4 separate regions of the Homo sapiens genome follow, and all the other regions are linked to region 4. The links are contacts of gene promoters, found by promoter capture Hi-C in human tissues and cell types (Jung and others, 2019). All regions are on one chromosome and are shown on one strand. Each heading gives the region's core, a stretch centred on a gene start or on the middle of the fragment in contact. The rest is flanking DNA. Distances are from core to core; before and after follow the strand shown. Region 1 has its middle 57 kb from the start of BDH1. Region 2 overlaps RUBCN (rubicon autophagy regulator). Region 3 has its middle 27 kb from the start of BDH1. Region 4 holds the start of DLG1 (discs large MAGUK scaffold protein 1).

Evidence for each region. The method cuts DNA at HindIII sites, captures the fragments that hold promoters and counts their contacts. A contact is called where the count stands out against the background at its distance.
Region 1: a fragment that was not itself captured here is called in contact with the fragment with the promoter of DLG1 in region 4 in 1 of the 25 tissues and cell types used here (mesendoderm cells).
Region 2: a contact is called between a fragment that was not itself captured here and the fragment with the promoter of DLG1 in region 4, in 1 of the 25 tissues and cell types used here (dorsolateral prefrontal cortex).
Region 3: a fragment that was not itself captured here is called in contact with the fragment with the promoter of DLG1 in region 4 in 1 of the 25 tissues and cell types used here (mesenchymal stem cells).

Annotation. Positions count from the first base shown.
Region 1 is chr3:197,611,586-197,614,285 of GRCh38, forward strand. It overlaps the pseudogene SDHAP4. Among named protein-coding and RNA genes, the nearest start is that of BDH1, 57 kb to the left of the region's middle. The HindIII fragment of the contact is 3,475 bases long and covers 1-2,700 here.
Region 2 is chr3:197,675,082-197,677,781 of GRCh38, forward strand. RUBCN (rubicon autophagy regulator) reads right to left here. Exons shown (of 20, transcript NM_014687.4): 17 at 2,399-2,460; 18 at 1,804-1,957; 19 at 341-434; 20 at 1-115. Among named protein-coding and RNA genes, the nearest start is that of MIR922, 1.9 kb to the left of the region's middle. The HindIII fragment of the contact is 4,269 bases long and covers 1-2,700 here.
Region 3 is chr3:197,581,534-197,584,298 of GRCh38, forward strand. No RefSeq gene overlaps it. Among named protein-coding and RNA genes, the nearest start is that of BDH1, 27 kb to the left of the region's middle. The HindIII fragment of the contact is 8,951 bases long and covers 1-2,765 here.
Region 4 is chr3:197,297,276-197,299,975 of GRCh38, forward strand. It overlaps DLG1 (discs large MAGUK scaffold protein 1), which reads right to left and starts at 1,337. Exons shown (of 25, transcript NM_001366207.1): 1 at 1,261-1,337. It overlaps DLG1-AS1 (DLG1 antisense RNA 1), which reads left to right and starts at 972. Exons shown (of 3, transcript NR_038289.1): 1 at 972-1,335; 2 at 1,703-1,817. RefSeq lists silencers at 264-893, 1,384-1,513. The HindIII fragment of the contact is 3,262 bases long and covers 1,022-2,700 here.

The sequences.
Region 1 (2,700 bases), core at 89-2,588, 310 kb after region 4:
GCCCGTGGAGATAGAGTAGAATGATGGCTACCAGAGTCTGGAAAGGGTAGTTGGGGGTGGAGAAAATGAGCGATGGTTAATGGGTACAAAAATATAGTTAGATAGAATTAATAAAATCTAATATTTGATAGGACAATGGAGTGACTACAATTTATTATACATTTAAAAATAACTAAAAGAGTATAACTGGATTGTTTGAAACATGAAGAAAGCATCAGTGCTTGAGCTGACGGATACTCCATTTACCCTGACATGATTGTTACACATTGTATGTCTCTATCAAAATATCTTATGTACCCCATTAATATATACATCTAATAGGTACCCATAAAAATAAAAAATAGGCTGGGCACAGTGGCTCGCGCCTGTAATCCTAGCACTTTGGGAGGCCAAGGTGGGCAGATGACCTGAGGTCAGGACTTCAAGACCAGCCTGGCCAACATGGTGAAACGCCATCTCCACTAAAAATACAAGTTAGCCGGGCATAGTGGCACATGCCTGTAATCCCAGCTACTCGGGAAGCTGAGGCAAGAGAAATGCTTGAACCTGGGAGGCGGAGGTTGCAGTGAGCCGAGATTGTGCACCACTAAACTCTGGCCTAGGCGACAGAATGAGACTCTGTCTCAAAAATAAAAATAAAAATAAATTAAAAATAAAAATAAATTTAAAATTAAAAATTAAGACCAGGCTGTACCCTGAGGTAGTTTAGAAGGCTAAACTCCTATAACTTAGTCTTGGGAGGTCTCAAGGCTTAGCCAGCTCAAATTTTCCATTTCTCCAATAGAAGTTCTCTTATGAACTCTGAAGAAATTGCAGCATTTCTTTTGCTTTTAAATCTATCTACTTCTCCATGATTTTAGGAATACCCACTGGAGTTTCTTCTAATGTAGTGATTAATTCTGGTAAATTCAATATAATACAATTTAATTTAATAAAATCCAGGGAAGTGGGGTGGATGGGGAAAGCGGAGAAGTTCATCAAAGAGTACAAAGTTTCAGTTAGACAGGAAAAATAAGCTTTAGTGATTTATTGCATAGAATAATGACTGTATTAAATAATAATGCATTGTATATTTTATTTTGTTTTGTTATTTATTATTTTTGAGACAGAGTCTCACAATGTTGTCTAGGCTGGTGTCAAACACCTAGGCTCAAGCGATCCTCTGGCCCCATCCTCTTGAGTAGCTGGGACTACAGGCATGTACCACCATACCACACCATTTGTATATTTTAAAATTGCTTGTGTACGATGCTCACGATCTGGCTGACAGGATCATTCATACCCCAAACCTCAGCATCACACAATATACCCATATAGCAAGCCTGCACATATACCCCATTAATCTAAAGTAAAAGTTAAAAATACTTTTTCAAAATAACAAAATAAATAAATAAAATTGCTAAAAGAGTGGTGCATGCCTGTAATCCCAGCTACTCAGGAGGCTGAGGCAACAGAATCACTTGAACCCAGCAGGTTGTGGTGAGCCAAGATCATGCCATTGCACTCCAGCCTGGGCAACAGAGTGAGACGCCATTTCAAAAAAAAAAAAAAAAAAAAGAAAGAAAAGGGTAGATTTTAAATGTTCTCACAACAACAAAAAATGATAAGTATGTAAGATTCTTAACCACAGTTGATGTACCTCACAGGAAGAGCTTCTCTTTCAAGATGTGTAGCTGCCCGATGGGTTCTTCCTGCCCACTGCACAAAAAAATCAGTTCATGGAGACCATGGCACTGCAGTAAAGAAAGAGGTTAATTGACATGATGCCAGCCACACCATGTGGGAGGCAGAGTTATTACTCAAATCAAACTCATCTAAGGCTTGGAGGTTAGGGATTTTTCAAAGGTAATTTGGTAGGTAGCAGGCTAGGGTATGGGGAGTGCTGATTGGTTGGGTCAGAGATGAAATCATAGGGTGTCGAAGCTGTCCTCTTTCTCTGAGTCGCTTCTGGGTGGGGACACAGAAGCCGTTGGCTGGTCCCGGTGGAGCCATCGGTCATCAGACATGCAAAATCCTGAGAAGATATCTCAGAAGGCCAATCCTAGGTTCTACAAAAGTAACATTATCTGCAGGGGTAACTGAGGAAGTTGCATATCTTGTGGCTTCTGGAATAACGCCTCACAATTGTTTTTGTCTACACCTTAGCAGAATTTAGGCTCCTCTCCTCCTCCTAGCCTGGTGGTCTCTCAGTATTACAAGGGTGGTTGAGTTTCGGGGAAGGGTTATTATAATTTAAACTATCAACTAAATGACTCCCACATGTAGCTTGGCTTAAACCCAGGAATAAGTAAAAGCAGCTTGAAAGCTAAAGGCAAGAGGGAGGTTGGCTAGATCAGCTTTCTTTCACTGCCATTATTTTCTCACTGTGATAATTTTTGCAAAGGCGGTTTCAGATGTGATTGGATTTTTGGATACTGTGAACCCTGAATATCTGAGACTGGTCTCAGTCAATTTAGAAAGTTTATTTTGCCAAGGTTGAGGCTGCATGCCTGTGGCACAGCCTCAGGAGGTCCTGACGACATGTGCCCAAGGTGGTCAGGGCACAGCTTGGTTTTATACATTTTAGGGAGACATGAGACATCAATCAATATATGTAAGATGAACATTGGTTCCATCCAGAAAAGCAGGACAACTCAAGCAGAGAGGGATCTTCCAGGTCACAGGTAGGTGAGAGTCAAATGGTTGCATTATTTTGAGTTT
Region 2 (2,700 bases), core at 135-2,634, 380 kb after region 4:
GACAGGTAAGACTCCAGGCTCTGCCTGGCCAGTGCCTCCCGCCGGGCCTGCAGCCGCTCGCAGCGCGGACAGCTTCCAGACTTGAAGCAGGCTTTATGGTAACACGCTTTACACTCTACTCAGGTTGGGAAGGTGGGGGAGAGAAGAAAACAATTTGTATTATCTCCAGCTAGAGGTCAGTTGCTGCCACAGCCCCTTCTCGCCACCAAGGCGTGGTGTCCCCTGGGGAGGCCCCGCGAGGTGCTGAGTGGCACCGAACTCTTGCTAACAGGGGTGGCTCTGGGGAATCAAGGAGCCCTGTGTTCAGGCTCACTTGCCCGATGCCTGCACCTGCCCTCACCTTCACAGGTCCGGCACTTATGGAGCTCAAAGGGAAAGATGATGTCATCCTCATTCTGACAGAACTCACAGATGAAGCCTTTGGCTTGGCAGAGCTGGGGAGGAAAAACACAGATGGCAAAATGAGGAGCGGCACATCAGGAACTGGCACGGGAGGGTGAACACCGAGGAGGGGAGTGGTCTACAGGGTTCTGCTGCCCACAGGGAGGAGGCCTGGGCTGGACTCAGAAGCATGAAAGCTAAACTAGGACCAGGGCCGGGCAGCGTTAGACAAAGCTTTAGGCAGAAGATCAGACAGGCACCAGCCGGAGAAGCTCCGACCCCCAGCGCGGCTCTCCATGAAGAGAGGAGAAGGAGGAAATGGCACCACAAAGGGCTTCCTAAGCCGACAGTCCCATCTGGGTCATGATTTTATTTCAGAATAGGAACCACAAGCAATTAAGATAAAATGTGGAGACGAGGCTGTTCCTCAAACACAGCTCCAAGCCTGGAGTCAGGTTGTAGTGAAGGATTTCCAGTTCCTCCCAGACACACAGGGTTTCCTACCTGTGCCCAGCTCGAATTATGGGACGGTCACAGGAACATAAACTGGGCATAGGCTAAGACAGGAAGTTCTAAAAGTGTAATTTCTGCATTTTCAACATGTTGAGTAGATGACGACAATAACGACGTGCGTTTGAGGAATACATAAAGTATACAAAACGCTGTCATACAAATTACCCCATCAACCCTCAAAAATACTGAGAAGAAAGTAAATTATTCTCTTCATCTTAGAGCCAAGAAAATCGAGGCCTCAGAGGGGACAAAGTATTTATTTTGGTCATAATGACTGAGAACAACAAATGACGGCCGAGGGTAGACTCCCTCTCGATTCCAATCCAGAGCTCTCCTCTCACATCATGACAACTGCCTTTTTTTTTTCCACTCTTGTCGCTCAGGCTGGAGTGCAGTGGCATGATCTCGGCTCACTGCAACCTCCGCCTCCTGGATTCAAGCAATTCTCCTGCCTCAGCCTCCCGAGTAGCTGGGATTACAGGCACCCGCCATCATGCCCGGCTAATTTCTGTATTTTAGTAGAGATGGGGTTTCATCATGTTCGTCAGGCTGGTCTTGAACTCCTGACCTCAGGTGACCCGCCCACCTCGGCCTCCCAAATTGCTGGGATGAGAGGCCTAAGCCACCGTGCCTGGCCAACACTTCTTGAGTGAAAGTCTACTCGGTCTTGCCCGGAGCTACCCAGGACCACAGCCAGCACCAGCTCCTCCCCTCACTCGAGGTTCTTTAGATCAGGATGATTTGGCTGCTCTCCAGGCTAAGGAACAGCAGCCCTTTCCAGTTCCTCTCCCAGTGCTGACTGGCCATTTCAACTTCCTCAAGCTAAGTGGCAAGAACCCCAGGTCCACCCCCCTCCCTGTATCCCTAAAAGCAAGGGCTCAGCTGCATGCTACAGTGAGACTTTCTCACCATGCATCTCTCCACATGGGTAGCCCCTGCCCTGGTGAGCTCAGCAAGCCGGGGCCCCAGCTCCCCCTTCCTGGTCGCAGTCAGGTCATTCAGTGAGTACAGGTGGAGGTCCTCTGTCAGGTGGCCTGGGACTGTGTCAAAGGAATCCAGAAGCCTACAGGGAGTGACAGGAGGCAGGTGAGGGAATGAACAGTGCATGTGCCACATCGTAGTAGAAGGATCCCTATCCAGAAACTGCAGAAAGTAATGAGGGTGGGCACCCATCAGCCAGCCCAAGGTTCCAGGCCGCCGCAGCCGTTCCACGCTATTAGGTGTCTGGATGGCAGGAGTGACTGATTTATAGGCTCCTGCAGAGTGGCCCATGTGAGACCCAGCCTGGGAAGAGAGGTGGCCTGTCCTGGATGGAATGACCACAGATCCCCTTCCAGAGAGAAGGACACAGATACAGTTACTGCTGTGGCCTCCTGTTTACCACTTTACAGTTCTGCAAAATCTCTCTACTCTCCTTCGTTACATAACAAGAGCCAAGCGCGGGGATGTGTCCCTTTCGGAGACAGCAACGTGGCCAGAGGGCTCTAGCTCCAAAAGGACTTACTCCTTGGCCAGTCGGCAAGTCTTGAACATGTTCTTCATGTGACACAGCTGGACCCGCAGCAGCTGAAAAGAAAGAGAGGGGGGCAGGAGTGGGAGGGAGATGTGAGAAGAGGAATCCAGTGTGGGAAGCCCAGGGCCTTTAAACCCTGGGGTTCTAGAAGCCTTGCATGCTGCACCCAGAGCAGACTGTCCTACGCTCTGACAACTGGCTCCAGACTGTCCTATGCTCTGACTCGACACCTGGCTTCAGATTGTCCCACACTCTGACTGACAACTGGCTTCAGACTGTCCTACGCTCTAACT
Region 3 (2,765 bases), core at 170-2,669, 280 kb after region 4:
GGAGAAGTTCCTGGGGACAGCCACTCCGATCTACGCCCATCTTTCCTGGGGTCAGCCACTCCGATCTACGCCCATCTTTCCTGGGGTCAGCCACTCCTATCTACGCCCATCTTTCCTGGGGACAGCCACTCCTATCTACGCCCATCTTTCCTGGGGACAGCCACTCCTATCTACGCCCATCTTTCCTGGGGACAGCCACTCCTATCTACGCCCATCTTTCCTGGGGACAGCCACTCCTATCCACGCCCATCTTTCCTGGGGTCAGCCACTCCGATCTACGCCCATCTTTCCTGGGGTCAGCCACTCCTATCTACGCCCATCTTTCCTGGGGACAGCCACTCCGATCTACGCCCATCTTTCCTGGGGACAGCCACTCCGATCTACGCCCATCTTTCCTGGGGACAGCCACTCCTATCTACGCCCATCTTTCCTGGGGACAGCCACTCCTATCTACGCCCATCTTTCCTGGGGTCAGCCACTCCTATCCACGCCCATCTTTCCTGGGGACAGCCACTCCTATCTACGCCCATCTTTCCTGGGGACAGCCACTCCTATCTATGCCCATCTTTACCTAAGCTTTTGGGATTTCTCTAGCATTTCTGCTCCCTGAGGCTGGGTGAGACAAAAAGCAAGTGTTCTCTTTTTCCTGGTTCTGAGGGCAGAAAGCCAAAGGCAAGCCCTGAAGAACGGTAGAGCCCACTCTTCCTGGCTGTTCTTTACTATCTGTCAGTTCTCTGAGGGAAAGGATCTTCAAGGAAAGCACATCACAGGGACAAAGTTGTGAAAAAGTTCTACTCTGGAGTCTAATAAGAAATGAATGGCCAGGCGTGGTGGCTCACACCTGTCATCCCACCACTTTGGGAGGCTGAGGTGGGTGGATCACCTGAGGTCAGGAGTTTGAGACCAGCCTGGCCAACATGGCGAAACCCCGTCTCTACTGAAAATACAAAAATTAGCCGGGTGTGGCAGCACACACTTATAATCCCAGCTACTTGGGAGGCTGAGGCAGGAGAATAGCTTGAACCCGGGAGGCGGAGGTTGCAGTGAGCTGAGATCGCACCACTGCACTCCAGCCTGGGAGACAGAGTGAGACTCCATCTCAAAAAAAAAAAAAAAAAAAAAAAAAAATTAACATTTCAGTAGATCTACACACTTCTCAAGTCAAAAAGTGGTATCCAGTTCCTGCCACTACCTAGCTGTGTGGCCTTAAGCCTCTCCCACTGGACCTCTAGCTCTGTGTTCACAGAATGACAAGCCAGGCTTCGGTAAGACTGAAGATCGCTCAGAGTTCTCATTTCCATTTTTTTTTTTTTTTTTTTTTTTGGAGATGGAGTCTCAATCTGTCACCCAGGCTGGAGTGCAGTGGCGCGATCGCAGCTCACCGCAACCTCCACCTCCCAGGTTCAAGCGATTCTCTTGCATCGGCCTACCGAGTAGCTGGGATTACAGACGTGCACCACCACACTTGGCTAATTTTTGTATTGTTAGTAGAGACAGGGTTTCACCATGTTGGCCGGGCTGGTTTCAAACTCCTGACTTCAAGTGATCTGCCCACCTTAGCCTCCCAAAATGCTGTGATTACAGGCATGAGGCACCGCGCCCGGCCATGATTCCCACCATTTTTTGCCAGCCTGATGCCTGTTCAAGTCCCCAGGAGATGCGTATCTTGGGCACGTGAGCTGGAGACAAGACAGAAAGCCTGAAAGGAGCCGAGCATCCATTCCCAATAGGAAGCAGCGCTTGGGAGAAACTGCAGTGAACCAAACCGGTGAGAGGCTGGAGCTCTCCACCTAACTGATAATCAAGCTGCACGTTGAGTTAATTGTCTAATTAAATATCATCTAACAATTTATCACCGAACATTTTAGGTACATAAGACTCCCTCAAATATCATGAGCTTCTGCCGGTGAGGAGTGACTTGCCGTATTTGCAGTCGTAATTGCTTTGCCACTCTGCTAGGAGAAATTAATCTGACTGTGACAACTTAGTTTTGGCCAGGAACAGTAACACATTCCATCTAATGGACTTAAATTAATTAGAATCAGGCTTTGCAAGATGCCTCTAAAATCTATGGCTGAACAAATACGGGTGCCACACAGTGGTGGACACTTGTTCTCTTAATAAAATTACTGTATAAAAATGCACCATTTTGCTTCCGAATGCTCAATGGAATTTAAAGCGGTAGCAACCTCAGTCCTTACAGGGTGTTTATAACCTTGCTTCTTGACCACTACTCTATCTCTCAAGTCCTTTGGATACTCCAAGCTGTATTTTTGTTTTCTTTTTTTTTTTTTTTTTTTTCTGAGACAGAGTCTCACTCTGTCACCAGGCTGGAGTGCAGTGGTGCAATCTTGGCTCACTGCAACCTCCACTTCCTAGGTTCAAGCAATTCTCTGCCTCAGCCTCTCCAGTAGCTGGGATTAAAGGTGCCCGCCACCACACCCATTTAATTTTTTGTATTTTTAGTAGAGATGGGGTTTCACCATGTTGGCAAGGCTGGTCTTGAACTCCTGACCTCGTGATCCACCTGCCTCAGCCTCCCAAAGTGCTGGGATTACAGGCGTGAGCCACTGCGCCAAGCCCAAGCTAAGTTTTAGAGGTCTTTGAGACCCAGGCCAAAGGACTGCCCTGGAAAAGCAGTGACTCTCTCCAAGATCCAGGTCTATGGTGGCAGGGCCAGCTGGCAGGAGAGTCAGGGCTTGGCAGCTTCTTCTGCAAGATGCATCTGTGCTTCCTGCCACTACCAAGCCACCTGGCTCCTGAAC
Region 4 (2,700 bases), core at 87-2,586:
GTTAAACTAGCATTTTCCCCTATCGAAATAGAAAACCCTCGCAGCCTATTTGAAAACCCCACGTTCCAAAGTTTTACCAAGTCAAAGAAAGAGTCTCAAAACGCAGCAGTTGTCTGTCAACGTGGAAAGCTTTTCCTTGGAGTGGGTACCCCTCCAAATTAAGAACAGACAGAAGTCGGCTTCCAAACTCTCCTCGAAAGCGTCCCCTCCCCAAAGAGCCTAGACCTGAGGCCGCCTCTTCCCCCGCACAAGTATCCACACTCCCCACCTGCTACTGGGTACGGGCGGGTGAAGCGCTCCGACCCTTGGCCCCTGAGCCAGCAGCGGCCGCAGAGCGCTGAGAGGGGACCAGCGGGACTGGCCGCCCGCCCTGCTCGGGCCCCCTCCTCTCGCTTGCCTTTCTCCTTGCTCGCTGCCTCCGGGCTGCTCCAGCGGGGGCCGGACAGGGCAGCGGCCGCTCTCCGCGACGCCCTCGCGCCCCGCATGCACACCTCCGCGGGCCCCCACACCTGCGGCGCCGCCACAAAGTTCCGGTGAGCGGCGTGCGCTCGGAACTGGGGTGCGCCCCGGCCAGACTCGGAGCAGCTCCCCAGCCCGGCCCCGCTCCACGTACCCCCGCCCCGCCCGGGGCCCGCGGAGCCGAGCGGAGGGGGCGAAGGGACGGGGGAGGAGCTCCCCTGGGCCGCCGCACCCCCGCGGCCTCGTCCTCCTTCTCGGCCGCGCCGCCTCCTCGCTCGCCGCGGCCCCCCGGCCCGCTCGCCCAGTTGCTGCCGCACGCCCCACCCCCGGAACCTCGCCTCCTTCCGCGCCCCCAACCGCTCTCCCCCGAAACTTTCCGCCAAGATGGCGGCCCCCGAGCTGGCCTGCCGCGCTCCCACGTGACCGCTTTCCCGGCGCTCTCAGCCAATGGGAAGTGAGGAGGCGGCTCGCGCCGAGCCCCGGGCTCCCCGCGCTGCTACCTTCGGGTTGGAAGGGGGAGGCGGGTCGGGGGAGGGCAGGGGAACGGAAGGGGTACCCGGGGAGCATCCTAAGGGAACCTCTTCGCTTAAAAGGGCGGCCGCTGAAGTGGCTCTGAGAACAAAGGAGTTAACACTCGGACTCCACAGGTGGCCCGGGGTGGCCCTGGAGGAGCCCGCCTTTACCTTGCCCTAGCCCACCGGCGCGTCCCGCAGTTCCGAACTAAACGCGCCAGGCCGGGAAGGCTCGGGCTGTCTGAAGAGAGGCGTGACCTCGCCTACACCAGATCCAAGGCGCACATACCGAGACACCCCTCAACCTCACTCAGCAGTGCCGTTTCCAACTCCGCGGCAGAGACAGCGCCTGGCGACCCCGGGGGTAGATCCCCACCGGGGAAAAGCCGCCTTAAGGAGGAGCCAACTGCACCTCCCAGGGGGCGGGGAGGGCGGGGCCTGGGAGAGGGAGAGGGAGGAGTTCGGGGAGGGGTGCCAACTCTGCATTGCCTTCCACTCCAGGCTGATTGTTAAGTTACTCTTCGTCCCTTAGTAATAGGCTTGGGGGGAGGGGTTTCATTACAGAAGGACATATGAAATAGAGACACTGGTTAACTTGGCAAGAGTTTGAGGGTTATAGTACAAGATTTTTAAGCCTAACTGATTAATTCCGAGTATGGTATACTTAAGGGTGGGCAGAGAAGGTTTGTTCATTCATTCGCTCATTCATTCATTCATTCATTTCCCTCAAGCCTGCGTCCCCGCCCGGTCAGCATCGCAGGTGTTACCCAAACTCTGACGGTCCCTTTAAGAACTCACCCGGAGTCGCGCCCTCCGAAGCTGAGCCGCCCTCGGCCAGCGCTGCAGGTTTGTTTCGTGCGCACCTCCGGGCGGAATTACCGGCCGGCTGGGACCCCGCTCCCGGTCTGAGCCACCCAGGTTATAGAAGGGGAATCTCGGGAAGCTTTCCAAGTCACTGCCCACGTCTTCGAACTTCCTCGGGGTGACGAGGACCTCCCTATTAGGAGGTCCAGAGAGAATTTGCCCAAAGTTACCCCGAGTGAGTGACAGAACTGGAAACCCGGAGATCCTGTCTTTCAAAACCGGAAGGCTCTTCCCAGTAAACCTGACGGCCTCTGACTGAGGCCGTATCCATTGGCTACCAAAGGGAAGGCCGAGGAACCTCGTATTGTAACCTTAACAGCTACTCAGAGGTATACTGACCACTGGTTTTACTTTTGGATTGCACCTTAGAATCCTAACTTACTGTAAGGACCCACCGACTTTAGAACCTATCTAGGACAAGGAACCGAGGTCCGGAAAAAGGGAAGCAACTTGTCCAAGGACATAGACGCTAATCAGTAACAGAGCAGCCGAGAACTCAGGTCTCCTAGCTCTAGTCCAGGGCTCTTTCTCTTGTGATTTTGGACAACTTGACAGAGAGGTATGTTGGTATGTTGGCAGCAGACCTCTGTGCTTTCCCGGATCAAGCATCCTGGGATCTTGAACAACAGTTAAAGCAACATTGCATAGAGAAAATGGGATAGAAGGGTCAAACGGTGCTGAAGGCAGAGGTGTCCTAACAGCCGGGAACTTAACAGAGGGACGGAATTTATTTAGTAGTGAAAGTGGCTCATGACAGGCATCATACTCTCAAGACTTCGCTGATGGACTGTGAATGGGATGGTTGCAGTAAGAAACCATTCTAACAATGGAATCTCTTCAGAATTCAGAAGAAACAGGGAGGGAA